Regions from separate parts of the Homo sapiens genome. Here all the other regions are linked to region 1. The links are contacts of gene promoters, found by promoter capture Hi-C in human tissues and cell types (Jung and others, 2019). All regions are on one chromosome and are shown on one strand. Each heading gives the region's core, a stretch centred on a gene start or on the middle of the fragment in contact. The rest is flanking DNA. Distances are from core to core; before and after follow the strand shown. Region 1 holds the start of PKMYT1 (protein kinase, membrane associated tyrosine/threonine 1). Region 2 has its middle 13 kb from the start of SLX4. Region 3 overlaps NLRC3 (NLR family CARD domain containing 3). Region 4 holds the start of CCNF (cyclin F). Region 5 overlaps CLUAP1 (clusterin associated protein 1).

Region 1 (2,644 bases), core at 71-2,570:
AAACAGATAAAGAGCCCCTCGGTGAGGGAAGGAACAATCCCTAGCCCGACTTGCTCCGCGAGGGCCCCTGCTAATCACTTTAGGGGATCATCCCAGCGTCCTCAGCTGTTTTTTTTTTTCCAGGAGAGGAGACTAATCCGAAGCTCAGAAAGGCTCAGTGCATTCCCAAGGTCGTTCAGCCAGGAGAGCGCTGAAGGGATCTGAGCTGAGAGCAAGTCTCAAACTCAGAGAATGGAGGAGCTGCCCCGGAAGTGGCTGCTCGAGGCTGCAGTGAACTATGATCCTGCGGCCAATCGCGGTGGCTCACGCCTGTAATCCCAGCCTTCTGGGAGGCCGAGGCGGGCGGATCGCTTGAGGTCAGAAGTTCGACACTAGCTTGGCCAACATGGTAAAACACCGTCTCTACAAAAAAATGCAAAAATTAGTTGGGTGTGGTGGCGCGCGCCTGTGGTCCCAGCTACTCAGGAGGCTGAGGTGGGAGGAACGCTTGAGCGGGGGAGGCGGAAGTTACAGTGAGTCGAGATCGCCCCACTGCACTCCAGCCTGGACAACAGAATGAGACCCTGTCTAAAAATAAAATACATGAGCCGAGTGCGGTGGCGCGCGCCTGTGATCTCACATACTCGGCAGGCTGAGGTTGGGAGAACCGCCTGAACCTGGGGACTGCACCACTGCATTCCAGCCTTGGTGACAGTGAGACCCTGTCTAAAAAAAAAAAAAAAAGTATCTGAGGCCTGTTGGCAGGGAAGCTGCAGGCAGGCGAGGTCAGGCCAAGCAGAGTCCTGCCTATCTGGAGAGCTTCCTGGAAGAGGCGGCTTTTTCTGGCTCCCGAAGCCGTGCGCTAGGGGTTGGGGGTCGTGCGTCTGGCCTCCCACCGCGACCCTGGTTCAGAACACGGCCGGAGTGAGAAGGGGGGTGCCGGGACCCAGGAGGCCGTAGGGACTTCCTGGTCCTACCCGGAGTAACCCTGGGGCTACGCCTGCTCCGAGCACCGGGATGGCGGTCCCTTTTATGGACCCAAACACTACGCCAGCCCAGCGAGGGCGGTGGGTGTCGGGTGCGAGGCCTGGAGGGCAGTGGGCGTCCCAGGGACTGGGCGGCTGAAGCCCCGCGCAGCGACTCAGAACCAGGCCGCCACCCACGCCCCGGGCCAGCGCGGAGAATCCTGTGCGCCTGCGCAGTGAGCGGCGGGGCGGCTCGGCGGCGCGCACGCAGCACGAGGGGCGGAGCCTCGGAGCCCGGGCACCCCTGACGGGCTGCACTGGGGAGGGGGAGGAGCCTCGAGGCCGGTTTGGAATTTTTGGCGCGAGCAGCTCCGCGCGCGTTCACGGGCCGTTCCCCCTCACGGGAGTCCTCCGCCCGGGCGTCCGGAACAGTCGACGGCAGACTCCGGCCCGCTGAGCCACCCGAGGGGTCCCGTGGCCTCCGCGGACCCGGAATCTGGGCCCTCGCGGACCCGCGCCCCGCCCAGTCGCCCCAGGTGAGCCCAGACCCCGCCGTGAGGGGCCTCGGCGTGGCCACCTCGCCGCTCCCCTCCGCCTCGCCAGGTCTGCGTTACCCCTGCCCCTCAGGCCTCCCCGGCGGCCCGCTCGCGTCCCCTCAGGCCCGCCCCCGCGAGCCCCTGCCTCCCGTCCTCCCCAATTCCTGGTTCCCTTGCCTCGAGCCCCTTCCCAGCGGCGGTCCCGCCCTACTCGCCCCTCCCGGAGACCCCGCCTGCTGTCCATCAACCCCGCGCCGCCGCCCTCCCCGTGACAGTCCTTCCTCCGTGACAGCCCCTGCCCCGGGACAGCCTCTCTTCTTCTGCAACAGCCCCTCTTCCCTCGTGACAGCCCGTCCACTGCTCTGTTCGCCAGGGCTTCCCCACACCCACGGAGTGAAGTCAGCCGCGGCCCTGCCTGGGAGGAACTTACCGTCTACCGGGAAAGGTGGCCAGCAGATGTGTCGGGCCTGGTGAGAGGGTGAGGCGAGACGGCCCGATCGCCCAGGGCCCCGGAAGCTGCGGAGGTCACCCCCGCCTGGCCTTAGCTCAGGGACACCCTGGATTCACGTGGGAGCCCCTGCTCCTGCCTCCCCCGTCCCACCACTGAGGCTGTTGGGCCAGGCCAGTCATGCTAGAACGTAAGTCGTAGGGCAGGGACGGTGGGAGAACTGGGTTAAGATGCACAGGCCCAGGTCCCCGAGTGTGCCAGGGTTGGGCCTGGAGGCTGTGCTTGTGACCAGTGACCTCCAGGATCCCAACACCCTGGCTCCTGACTTGGAGAAACCCTGGGCTGGGACTCTGAGGTAGTTAGAGTCAGAGGAAGAGTCTCCACAAGATGGAGGGCAGCCTGCCAGCCAGGCCCAGGTAGCATCGCTCCCCTCACCCCTGTACTCCCTCAGGTACTGGAGACTGCTCTTTTTAATTTTTTATTTACTATTATGTATATTTTTTTGAGATGGAGTTTTGCTCTTGTCGCCCAGTTGGAGTGCAATGCCGCAATCTCGGCTCACCGCAACTTCCACCTCCTGGGTTCAAGCATTTCTCCTGCCTCAGCCTCTGAGTAGCTGGGACTACAGGCATGCACCAGCACGCCCGGCAAAAATTTGTATCTTTAGTAGAGATGGGGTTTCACCATGTAGGCCAGGCTGGTCTCGAAGTCTTGAC
Region 2 (2,644 bases), core at 87-2,586, 640 kb before region 1:
TCCTTCTGCCTCGGCCTCCTGAAGTGTTGGGATTACAGGCATGAGCCACCATGCACAGCCCTTTACACCCTCTTAATGGTGCCTTATAAAGGTTCTTAATTTTAATGTCACATAATTTGTCACTTCTTTATGGTTAGTGGTTTGTGTCCCTGTTTAAGAATTTTTTGCCTACCCCAAAGTCATGAAGATTCCCTCCTATGCCTTTTTTAGCACCTTTATTCTATATTGGCCGTTTCATTTATTTATTTATTTTTTGACACAGGGTCTTGCTCTGTTGCCCAGGCTGGAGTGCAGAAAGGCGATTATGATTCACTGCAGCCTCGACCTCCTGGGCTCAAGCGATCCCATTTCAGCCTACTGAATAGCTGGGAGTAGAGGCATGTGCTACCATGCTGGCTAATTTTATTTAAACAATTTTTTTTTTGCAGCGATGGGTCTCACTACACAGCCCAGGCTGGCCTTGAACCATGGGCTCAGGCAATTCTCCCTTCTCAGTCTCCCAAGTTTCAGAGACTACAAGAATATAACATCATGCCTAGCCCCATTAGTTTGTTTTATTGTTTTTTGTTTTGGAGACAGAGTCTCACTCTGTTGCCCAGGCTGGAATGCAGTGGTACGATCTCGGCTCACTGTAACCCCTGCCTCCAGGGCTCAAGCAATTCTCCTGCCTCAGCCTCCCAAGTAGCTGGGATTACAGGCATGCACCACCACACCTGGCTAACTTTTGTATTTTAGTAGAGACGGGGTTTCACCATGTTGGCCAGGCTGGTCTTGAACTCCCAACCTCAGGTGATCCGCCCGCCTAGGCCTCCCAAAGTGCTGGGATTACAGGAGTGAGCCACTGCCCCCGGCCCCCATTAAGTTTTAATAAGAAAAACTGCAGGCTGGGCATGATGGCTCACACCTGTAATCTCAGACTGTGAGAGGCTGGGGCAAGCAAATCACTTGAGCCCAGTTCGAGACGAGCCTGGGCAACATGGCAAAACCCTATCTCTACTAAAAATAAAAAATAAAATAAAAAATTAGCCAGGTGTGCTGGAAGAAACCTATATTCTCAGCTACAGAAATAGAATACAGGCTGAGGTGGGAGGACTGTTTGAGCCTGGGAGGCAGAGGATGCAGTGACCCAAGTTCCCACTACTGCACTCCAGCCTGGGTGACGACAAAGTAAGACTCCATCTCAAAAAACAAGAAAAGAAAAATTGATTGCAAAAAAATTGTTACACAATGTTTGCTGGTTTGGGCCACCACTGGGAATGGCTTTGCCTGTCTAGATGTTCGGATGCTGAGCACAGTCCACCCAGTTGGACTGCTCCAGGTATAGTACACAGTGGCTGCTAGATTCAGGGTCTTATGGGAACAGCTTCAGCCACTGTGAACTCAGCCAGGGGCGGCAAGGGCATTCTGAAGGTTTAGAGCTCGGCATAAGGGACGCTAACCCAGTGCCTAGAGCACCACCAGGTGCCTTACGCAGCTGGCCAATAACAATTTTAATGTAAAAATAAAAACTCTAGAAGAAAACATGCAGAAAATTACTTTATAATCTCAAAGTAGAGAAGACCTTGCTAACCAAGGACACAAAAGCCACTAACCTTTTTTTTTTTTTTTTGAGACAGAGTCTCACTCTGTCGCCCAGGCTGGAATGCAGTGGCACAGTCTAAGGTCACTGAAACCTCTGCCTCCCGGGTTCAAGCGATTCTCCTGCCTCAGCTTCCTGGGATTACAGGCGTGCACTACCGCGCCCAGCTGATTTTTGTATTTTTAGTAGAGACGGGGTTTCACCATGTTGGCCAGGCTGGTCTTGCACTCAAGTGATCCGCCTGCCTTAGCCTCCCAAAGTGCTGGGATTACAGGTAGTGAGCCACCGCACCTGGCCTCCATACTGTTTTCTATATAGAGGTTATAGTAATTTACAGTCCCATTAACAGCATATAAGCATTTCCTTTTCTGTGCATCCATGCCAACATCTGTTGTTTTTTGACTTTTTAATAATAGCCATTCTGACCAGTGTAAGATGATATCTCACTGTGGTTTTGATTTGCATTTCTCTGATGATTACTGATGTGAGCACTTTTTCATGTTTCTTTGCCGCTTGTATGTCTTCACTTGAGAAGTATGTGTTCTTGTCCTTTGCCTACTTTCTCTCTAATTCCTGGCCTCAAGTGATCCTCCTGCCTCAGCATCCCAAAGTCCTGGGATTACAGGTGTTAGCCACCACGCCCAGCCTTTGCTCACTTACTAATGGGTTTTTTTTTCTTGTTGAGATCCTTGGAGATACTACGTATTAGTCCTTTGCCAGAGGCTTAATTTGCAAATATTTTCTCCCATTCTATAGGTTGTCTATTTACTCTGTTATTTCTTTTGCTGTGTAGAAGTGTTTTCATTTAATTAAGTCCCATTTGCCTATTTTTCTTCTTGTTGCATTTGCTTTTGAGGTCTTAGTCATATATTCTTTGCCTAGGCTAATATCCAGAAGAGTTTTTCCTAGGGTTTCTTCTAAGATCTTTAGAGTTTCAGGTCTTATGTTTAAGTCTTTGAGTTAATTTTTGTATGCGGTGAGAGATAGAGGTACGGTTTCATTTTTCTATATATGGTTAGCCAATTTTCCCAGCGCTATTTATTGAATAGCGTGTCCTTCCCCCAC
Region 3 (2,644 bases), core at 88-2,587, 580 kb before region 1:
CTCCTGGCCGGCTCCCTGCTGGCCCAAGGCGAGCACCAGGCCTACCGGACCCAGGTGGCTGAGCTCCTGCAGGGCTGCCTGCGCCCCGATGCCGCAGTCTGTGCACGGGCCATCAACGTGTTGCACTGCCTGCATGAGCTGCAGCACACCGAGCTGGCCCGCAGCGTGGAGGAGGCCATGGAGAGCGGGGCCCTGGCCAGGCTGACTGGTCCCGCGCACCGCGCTGCCCTGGCCTACCTCCTGCAGGTGTCCGACGCCTGTGCCCAGGAGGCCAACCTGTCCCTGAGCCTCAGCCAGGGCGTCCTTCAGAGCCTGCTGCCCCAGCTGCTCTACTGCCGGAAGCTCAGGTGGATACCAGGGCAGGGGGCAGGGGCTGGGGAAGGGGCAGAGGAGAGAGCAGAAGCCGTCCCCTCCCCACCACCAAGCTTCTCTGTCAGTCTCCTAGGGCTGCCGTAACAGAGGACCATGAACTTGGTGGCTTAAAACAACTAAAGTGTGTTTTCTCGCAGTTCTGGAGGCCAGAAGTCTCAAATCAAGGTGCCAGGAGGGCCATGCGCTCTCTGAAACATATAGGAGAGGTTCTTTCCTTCCTCTCTAGCTTCCAGTGTTTGATGGGAACCCTTGGCTTAAGGCTGCGTTACTTCAGTCTCTCCCGTCGCCTGGTCATCTTCTCCCTGTGTCTGTCTCCACATGGTGCTGTCCTCTCTTTTTTTTTGAGATGGAGTCTTGCTCTGTCGCCCAGGCTGGAATACAGTGGCGCGATCTCAGCTCACTGCAAACGCTGCCTCCTGGGTTCAAGCGATTCTCCTGCCTCAGCCTCCCTAGTAGCTGGGATTACAGGTGCCCGCCATCATGCCTGGCTAATTTTTGTGTTTTTAGTAGAGACGGGGTTTCACCATGTTGGCCAGGCTGCTCTCAAACTCCTGACCTCAGGTGACCCGCCCACCCCAGCCTCCCAAATTGCTGGGATTACAGGCCTGAGCCACTGCACCTGGCCAGTGCTTTCTTGTCTTAAAAAGACACTGTCACACTGGATTACAGGCTCACCCCACTTCAGCATGGCCCCACCTTAACAAAGTACATCCACAGTGACCCCATTTCTCAATAAAGCCACATACTTGGGGCACAGGGGGTTAGGACTTCATATCTTTTGTGGGGACACAATTCAATTCATAACCCCCTCAGAACCATCCAGTCTGATAGAAGCTGCACACCCGCTGAATGCTTTCAGCCTGTCCCCTGCCCGCCACTCTGGACCTTAGTGAGTAGGGAGGAAAGGACACAGGCTGAGGGTCATCCAGGTGTCCCGCAGAGGCAGGCGGTATGTGGGGTGGTGAGGACGACAGCCCGTGGAAGATGCCGTTCTGCACAGGAACCGCAGGTCTCGTGGGCACCCAGCCTCCTGTTCACTCTCACGGGAAAGGTCTGAGCACTGGGGCTGAGCGCAGATCTCAGAGCTGCGGTGATAGCGCTGCATGGGATGGAGAGAGGCAGAGGCCCCGGGCCAGGGCCCCCACCCTGCCCGTGGGCGGGTGGGACACTCACTGTCACTGCTCCCCTTGGCCAGGCTGGACACCAACCAGTTCCAGGACCCCGTGATGGAGCTGCTGGGCAGCGTGCTGAGTGGGAAGGACTGTCGCATTCAGAAGATCAGGTAACACAGACCCAGGGGACCTCCAGGGTGCCTATGGTCTTGTGGGGTATGGAACCCTCTTCCCATCATCCTCTGCTCAGCTGGCCAGCGGCGCTGCCACGGAGAAGTGTCTTTGGAGCATGTGGCTCCAGATGCAGCCTGCTTGTTTCTGCCCAATTCCAGAAAGTGCTAGAGGCTCAGGTGCCTCATCAGTAGGAAGAGGGAGGTGACCTGGCGGGACTAGACACCGCTGTGCACAGGCAGGTGTTTCCACAGCACTACGTGTGCTGACATAATGCCAGGCACAATGTTCTCTAAGCACCTCTCCAAGTTTGCTGTCCAACAGCATTCTAGGCACAGGATTATAATTATCCCCCCCAGACAGTCTTGCTTTGTCACCCCAGCTGGAGTGTAGTGGCATGATCTCGGCTCATTGTAATCTCTGCCTCCCAGGCTCAAGCAGTTCTCTAACCCCAGCCTCCTGAGTAGCTGGGATTAGAGGGGCCCACCACACCTGGCTAATTTTTGTATTTTTAGTAGAGACAGGGTTTCACCATGTTAACCAGGCTGGCCTCGAACTCCTGACCTTGTGATCCGCCAGCCTTGGCCTCCCAAAGTGCTGGGATTACTGGCGTGAGCTACTGCACCCAGCCAATTGCATTTTTAATTAAAATTTTAAATTTCAAATTTAATTTAATTAAAATTTAATTTCAAATTTAATTTTAAATCAATTTAAACAATTTTTAATTAAAATTGCATCTTGTGGCCGGGTGTGGTGGCTCACCCCTGTAATCCCAGCACTTTGGGAGGCCGAAGCAGGTGGATCACGAGGTCAGGAAATCGAGACCATCCTGACTAACACGGTGAAACCCTGTCTCTACTAAAAATACAAAAAATTAGCCGGGCGTGGTGGTGGGCGCCTGTAGTCCCAGCTACTCAGGAGGCTGAGGCAGGAGAATGGCGTGAACCCAGGAGGCAGAGGTTGCAGTGAGCCGAGATCGCACCACTGCA
Region 4 (2,644 bases), core at 89-2,588, 550 kb after region 1:
TCTATTTCACTCTCAGGAAAACTCCTGGGGCCTTTGCTGGATAGCTTTGCTTTTTGCACACGTGACCAAGGTGCATAATGTTCAATAAAGATCTGTGGGCTTGAAGAGTCTGGTTTTCAAGTCCAAATTAGAAGGGTCGGCCCTGGAGAGAAGCCACAGACTTGGAGGCCGGGGCAGTGTGCGTCCAAGTCTCAGCTCTGCAGAGTCTCAGTGTGCCCTCTATTGTAGAATGCGGAGTTGACAGCTACGCAGTAAGGTTGTTGCTCAGGTCCCAACACAAACCTAGACCTGTAGGTTTGTGTACAGATGCAATCATTAAAGGTGAGACGGGCATTCCACCCACCAGGCAGGCAGCCCGGACATGCTTCTCAGATGTGCTCTCTCCTCTTCCCACAGCCGGATTTTCCAACTCCTACTCCAGCAACCCCTTCCTCACTCTAAGCAGATGACCTTAGCCCTTATTTCACAGGGAAACAGAAGCCCTCAGACAGGAACCTCAGGATCCTGCCTCCCCATCTACAAATCTACCTTTCTATCCATCCTTCCTTCCAGTCCTGAAAGGAAGCGCCACTCCCCTCTGTGGGCCCAAATCCCTCCCCGCCTTGCTAGGACTTCCTAGCGATTGCTCCCGGCTCCCCTCTCTTGACCGGGGTCTTCCTGTTAGCAATTAAATCAGCTGCAAAAGCCAAACGTATTCCAGGGCGACGAATTCTCAAAGATTCTATAGACCTCTCCATAAAATATTCCTCATTCTCCGGCTCCAGGACAGATACTATGATAATAGCTGAAACCACAGTTCGTGTTTCCTGTGCCTCAACGCGCGCGGGGCCGAACGCTGCTTTCCACAGAGCTAGGTCCACGGCCCCGCTGGACTGAGGCTCGGTCAGGGCCCGGCCGGGCTGCGGGATCGCTTCGCCCCCACGCGCTCCGCAGCCCTTTCCCCGACCAGGAGGCGCTGGTGTTTGGCTCCCCGAGACCCGATCGCCGCCCCGGGACCCGATCGCCGGATCGCTGCCCCGGGACCCGATCGTTGCCCCAGGAAAGGGCCGGAAAACGTCGCCGCGGGGGAAGGCTCCGAGGGGCTCGGGCGCCCGCCGGGCATTTAAACCGCGCGCCCGGCCGCCGGGGCTCCCTGCGCGGGACGCGACATCCGCCCCGGGTTAAAGAGCTCGAGCCAGCCCTCTTCAGGCCGCCAGGGCCTCCCCTCCCGCGGGACCCACCGTCCGCCCCGCAGGGCAGGCAGAAGGGGTGTGGGGCAGAAACCAGCGGACATCGCCCCGCACTCACCGCCGCCGCTCCCCATCGCCGCGCTCGCGTCGCTGCCGCCGGAGCCCGCCTGAGAGCGCGCCCGCGCCCCGGCCGGAGCGCGCGTAGCCCTCGCGCAGGCGCAGACCCCGCCCCGCCGCCCACCCCAGTTTTCAAACGCACCCGGCCCTCCCATTGGCCTGCCCGGGGGGGCCGCCGCCGGCCCCGCCCATGTCCCGCCCTGTGCTCGCCTCATTTACCGCCCTCCACGCCCTCCCCGCCTGCTCCGGGACCCGCCATTGGCCGCGCCAGGACGCGAATTCGAACATTGGCCGCTGATTGGTGGAACCCGCGTGGCCGCCCCGCCTCCCCAACGGGGCTGGGGTCCCGTAGGAGCGCTTCCCGGCCGGCGGGCAGGGGTTTGTGGGCGTCCCCTCCCGGCCGCATGGGTTCGGGCTTCGCCGCTGACCCCGGCGACCGGCATCTGCGGTGCCAGATGGGCTGCGAAGGCGCACGCCTGCGGCCAGGGGAAAGAGGACTCCTTGGCGTCCCTCGCAGTCGCGGCCGTGATCCAGCCTGGGACAGCCTCGACGTGGCGCTTCTAAGACGAGGCCGTGCCCTGCCCGGGTCCCGGGGTCGCTCCTGGGCCCGCGACCCTCACCCCCAGCTTGCACGGCCTTCCCTTCCGCCGCCTGCTTCAGGTGGAGACCCTTGGGTTTGTGGCTGAGCCGCTGCTGGGCGGGGATGCTGGCCGGGATCGTGGTAGAGAAAGAGGAGGTCGGAGCTGACGCTGGGAAGTCTCCCCCGCGGAACGCTGACCCCTTCTTCCCGCGAAACGTGGCGCACCCTGGACGCCTCAGTGCTCCAGCCCCGGGGCAAGCCCTCCCCATCACTTTGGCCAGATGCTGCCCCCTGTCTGGCCTCCTCGGCTGCTACCTGGAGCTGCTCGCCGCGGGAAGTGTCGTATCTGCTCACTCTTGTCTTGGGCAGTGCCCATCTGAGCTGTCCTTCAGGAGTCAGCCACACCGCACCCCTTTTACGGCACAGGCTGTCAAGGGGAAGACTCGCAGCCTCCTGACTGTCTGGTGGAGGACAGAGGGGGCTTTTCCTGGGGAAGGCAGGGGCCTGGGCCAAGGCTGCCCACCCCTCCCTCACGCTTCCCTCAGTCTGCACCCTTCCATCCTTCCGGGTCCCCATAGAACTCCTTCAAGTACTGGGCCTGCCCTGGGCACACAGACAGGAGCCCTGGCGTGCAGGCTTCAGCCGGCCTGGGGCAAGAGACAGAGTAAACAGGTGATCACAGCACAGGGTACAGAAGAGTCCGTGGCCCCAGAGAGGGTCTGGAAGTTGGGAATATTCCCTGTCCCGGAATCAGGAAGCGGGTGAAGGAGGGTGAAGA
Region 5 (2,644 bases), core at 52-2,551, 530 kb before region 1:
GTGCCCACCAGAAGCAGGAAGGACAGCTAATATCCTCTATCACCTTTCCACACATTAGCTCATTCAACCAGGTGTATTTCATTAAATCAGAACTGAAAAGGGAGAAACAGAATTGAAAAAGAAAACCTTGAAGAGAAAATCTGCATGGTTAAGGAAGTACTGGAATGCTTACCCTCAACTCTACTTCCATGCCGAGCAAGTCATACAGAGATGCTCCTTTGGAGGTGATTTCAGACGCAAGCTGCCTGGCTGCCTTCAAATCTGCAATCTGGAAGGAAAATAACAAAAACAGAAACCTCAGCAACAGATGTTTTTTAATAGAGACAGGGTCTTGGCTATGTTACCCAGGCTGCTCTCTAACTCCTGGCCTCAAGTGACCCTCCGACCTCAGCCTCCCAAAGTGTTGGGATTATAGGCAGAACCACCATGTTCAGCCAGCCACAGATTTTTTTTTTTTTTTTTTTGAGACGGAGTTTCGTTCTTGTTGCCTAGGCTGGAGTGTGATAGCGCGATCTCGGCTCACCGCAATCTCCACCTCCCAGGTTCAAGTAATTTTCCTGCCTCAGCCTCCCAAGTGGCTGGGATTACAGGCATGTGCCACCACGCCCGGCTAATTTTGTATTTTTAGTAGAGACAGGATTTCTACATGTTGGTCAGGCTGCTCTTGAATTCCTGACCTCAGGTGATCCACCCACCTCGGCCTCCCAAAGTGCTGGGATCACAGGCGTGAGCCACCGTGCCCGGCCAGCCACAGATTTTTAACATGCATTCAACCACTAGCCTGTTCATGTCAGCTCCTACCTTTGGTTGGGACACGTGACCACAAACATGTGCTTCCCCAGTTACATGCTCACAGGCTGCGGGACACACGCTCAGGAAATGATCATCTAAGTACTAAAGAGACCAATTCCAGGACGCCTGGGTCTCTCCAAAAAACCTAATGTCACCTCAAACTGAAGCCACAACCAGGAGGGCATAGCTGGGAGAAAGCTGACGTGCTTCCTACTTGGACTTTGTCACAGTAGGGTGCCTGACGGCAGCAGAGCGGCCACACAAAGGGACAGCCTGAGGGACACACATCCTCTTGCAGCAGCCTGACGTCCTGTGTTTCGTCCTCCCCTGCCCTCCTTCTCTGCCTCAGACTTTCCTCCACAGGCTTGGAGAGGCGCAAATCGGGTGGCACCCACTAAGGACTTACAATGGTTCTGGGCTCCACAGATGGGCAGCTGTTGCCAGGAAGGTGATGACAACCACAATGAGGATTTAGCACTGAGCCCTGTGCACAGGCTTCTTTCTTAGGATGTGTGTGTCACCCCTTCTTCCTAGAATATGCTAACTCTTCTAAGGAGCCCAAACATAAACGTCTCCCTGCTCTGCTCACTCTCCCTCTCTCCTGGACAACCAATCCTCACCTTCTGGCTCTCATTTTCAACCCACTAGCAACAACTCTCCCTCTTCATTTGCAGCTGATGGCTTTGATAGCTTGCTTCCCTCTTCCTTAGTCCTCCAGGATCCAGCCTGCTCTGGCTCTAGCTGCTTTTCTTCCCTTCCGAGCAGCACATCCCCAAACTTCTTTGCAGGAGTCTGTCACCTTCTCTGCTTCTCAAAAGTGGAGCGAGTCAGAGTTTCATTCCTGGACCCCCCGTCTTTTCTGCTGGCTCTGCTCCTACCCTCAAGGCTTTAATACCATCTGTGTGCTGATTGCTCCCCAGCTCCCAGCTCCAGCCTGGGCTTTCCCTGGGCTCTAGTTTCACATACCAGCTACCTGTGCACCATCTCCACCTGGACAGCCAATCGGCGTGGCAAATGGAGCATGTGCAGAACCTTCTCTGCTTCAGTACATGGCAACTTCATCCTTCCAGGGGCTCACACAAAAAACTTCAGAGCAGTGATGTCTAATATAGTAACCAATAGCCACATGTGGCCATTTTCACTTAAATTACTTAAGAATTAAAGAAAATGCAGAACTCAACTCAGTTCCTCAGTTGTGCTTGCCACATGTGGCCAGTGGTTCCCGTAGAGTACAGCACAGAGGCGGAACACACCCATGAGCTCTGCAAGCTCTGCCGCACGGCTGCCCCAAGACCCGGCCTGTAGCACCTGACTTACTCTCAACCCATGCCTCATCCCGTGAGATCTACCATCAAAATATGCCCCAATCTCTAGACACTTCTCTTGCTGACGAGTGTCGCTCCTGGTTAAAAACCCACATGTGAGGACAGGCGCGGTGGCTCACGCCTATAATCCCAGCACTACGGGAGGCCGAGGCAGGCAGATCACCTGAGGTCAGGAGTTTGAGACTAGCTGGCCAACATGGTGAAACCCCATCTCTGCTAAAAAAAAAAAAAAAAATACAAAGCCGGGTGCGGTGGCTCACGCCTGTAATCCTAGCACTTTGGGAGGCTGAGGCGGGCAGATCACCTGAGGTCAGGAGTTCGAGACTAGCCTGACCAACATGGAGAAACCCTGACTCTACTACAAGTAAAAAATTAGCTGGGTGTGGTGGCGCATGCCTGTAATCTCAGCTACTCAGGAGGCTGAGGCAGAAGAATCACTTGAACCTGGGAGGCAGAGGTTGCAGTGAGCTGAGATTGTGCCATTGCACTCCAGCCTGGGCAACAAGAGTGAAACTCCATCTCAAAAA

What was found. Contacts are between HindIII fragments. The study calls those that stand out against the background at their distance.
Region 2: a contact is called between a fragment that was not itself captured here and the fragment with the promoter of PKMYT1 in region 1, in 1 of the 25 tissues and cell types used here (lymphoblastoid cells).
Region 3: a contact is called between a fragment that was not itself captured here and the fragment with the promoter of PKMYT1 in region 1, in 1 of the 25 tissues and cell types used here (spleen).
Region 4: a contact is called between the fragment with the promoter of CCNF here and the fragment with the promoter of PKMYT1 in region 1, in 2 of the 25 tissues and cell types used here (lymphoblastoid cells and spleen).
Region 5: a fragment that was not itself captured here is called in contact with the fragment with the promoter of PKMYT1 in region 1 in 1 of the 25 tissues and cell types used here (spleen).

Annotation. Positions count from the first base shown.
Region 1 is chr16:2,979,122-2,981,765 of GRCh38, reverse strand. PKMYT1 (protein kinase, membrane associated tyrosine/threonine 1) reads left to right here and starts at 1,320. Exons shown (of 9, transcript NM_004203.5): 1 at 1,320-1,480; 2 at 1,854-2,118. The coding sequence starts at 2,109. RefSeq lists enhancers at 1-877, 878-1,753, 1,754-2,630 and silencers at 987-1,346, 1,357-1,586. The HindIII fragment of the contact is 14,611 bases long and covers 1-2,644 here.
Region 2 is chr16:3,623,234-3,625,877 of GRCh38, reverse strand. It overlaps a transcript of DNASE1 not described here. Among named protein-coding and RNA genes, the nearest start is that of SLX4, 13 kb to the right of the region's middle. The HindIII fragment of the contact is 6,693 bases long and covers 1-2,644 here.
Region 3 is chr16:3,560,712-3,563,355 of GRCh38, reverse strand. It overlaps NLRC3 (NLR family CARD domain containing 3), which reads left to right. Exons shown (of 20, transcript NM_178844.4): 5 at 1-347; 6 at 1,568-1,654. Among named protein-coding and RNA genes, the nearest start is that of NLRC3, 15 kb to the left of the region's middle. RefSeq lists an enhancer at 994-1,494. The HindIII fragment of the contact is 5,808 bases long and covers 1-2,644 here.
Region 4 is chr16:2,428,141-2,430,784 of GRCh38, reverse strand. It overlaps CCNF (cyclin F), which reads right to left and starts at 1,338. Exons shown (of 17, transcript NM_001761.3): 1 at 1,288-1,338. The coding sequence starts at 1,303. RefSeq lists silencers at 963-1,012, 1,023-1,872 and enhancers at 2,083-2,262, 1,698-2,277. The HindIII fragment of the contact is 14,340 bases long and covers 1-2,644 here.
Region 5 is chr16:3,510,007-3,512,650 of GRCh38, reverse strand. CLUAP1 (clusterin associated protein 1) reads right to left here. Exons shown (of 12, transcript NM_015041.3): 5 at 173-268. Among named protein-coding and RNA genes, the nearest start is that of CLUAP1, 10 kb to the right of the region's middle. The HindIII fragment of the contact is 6,420 bases long and covers 1-2,644 here.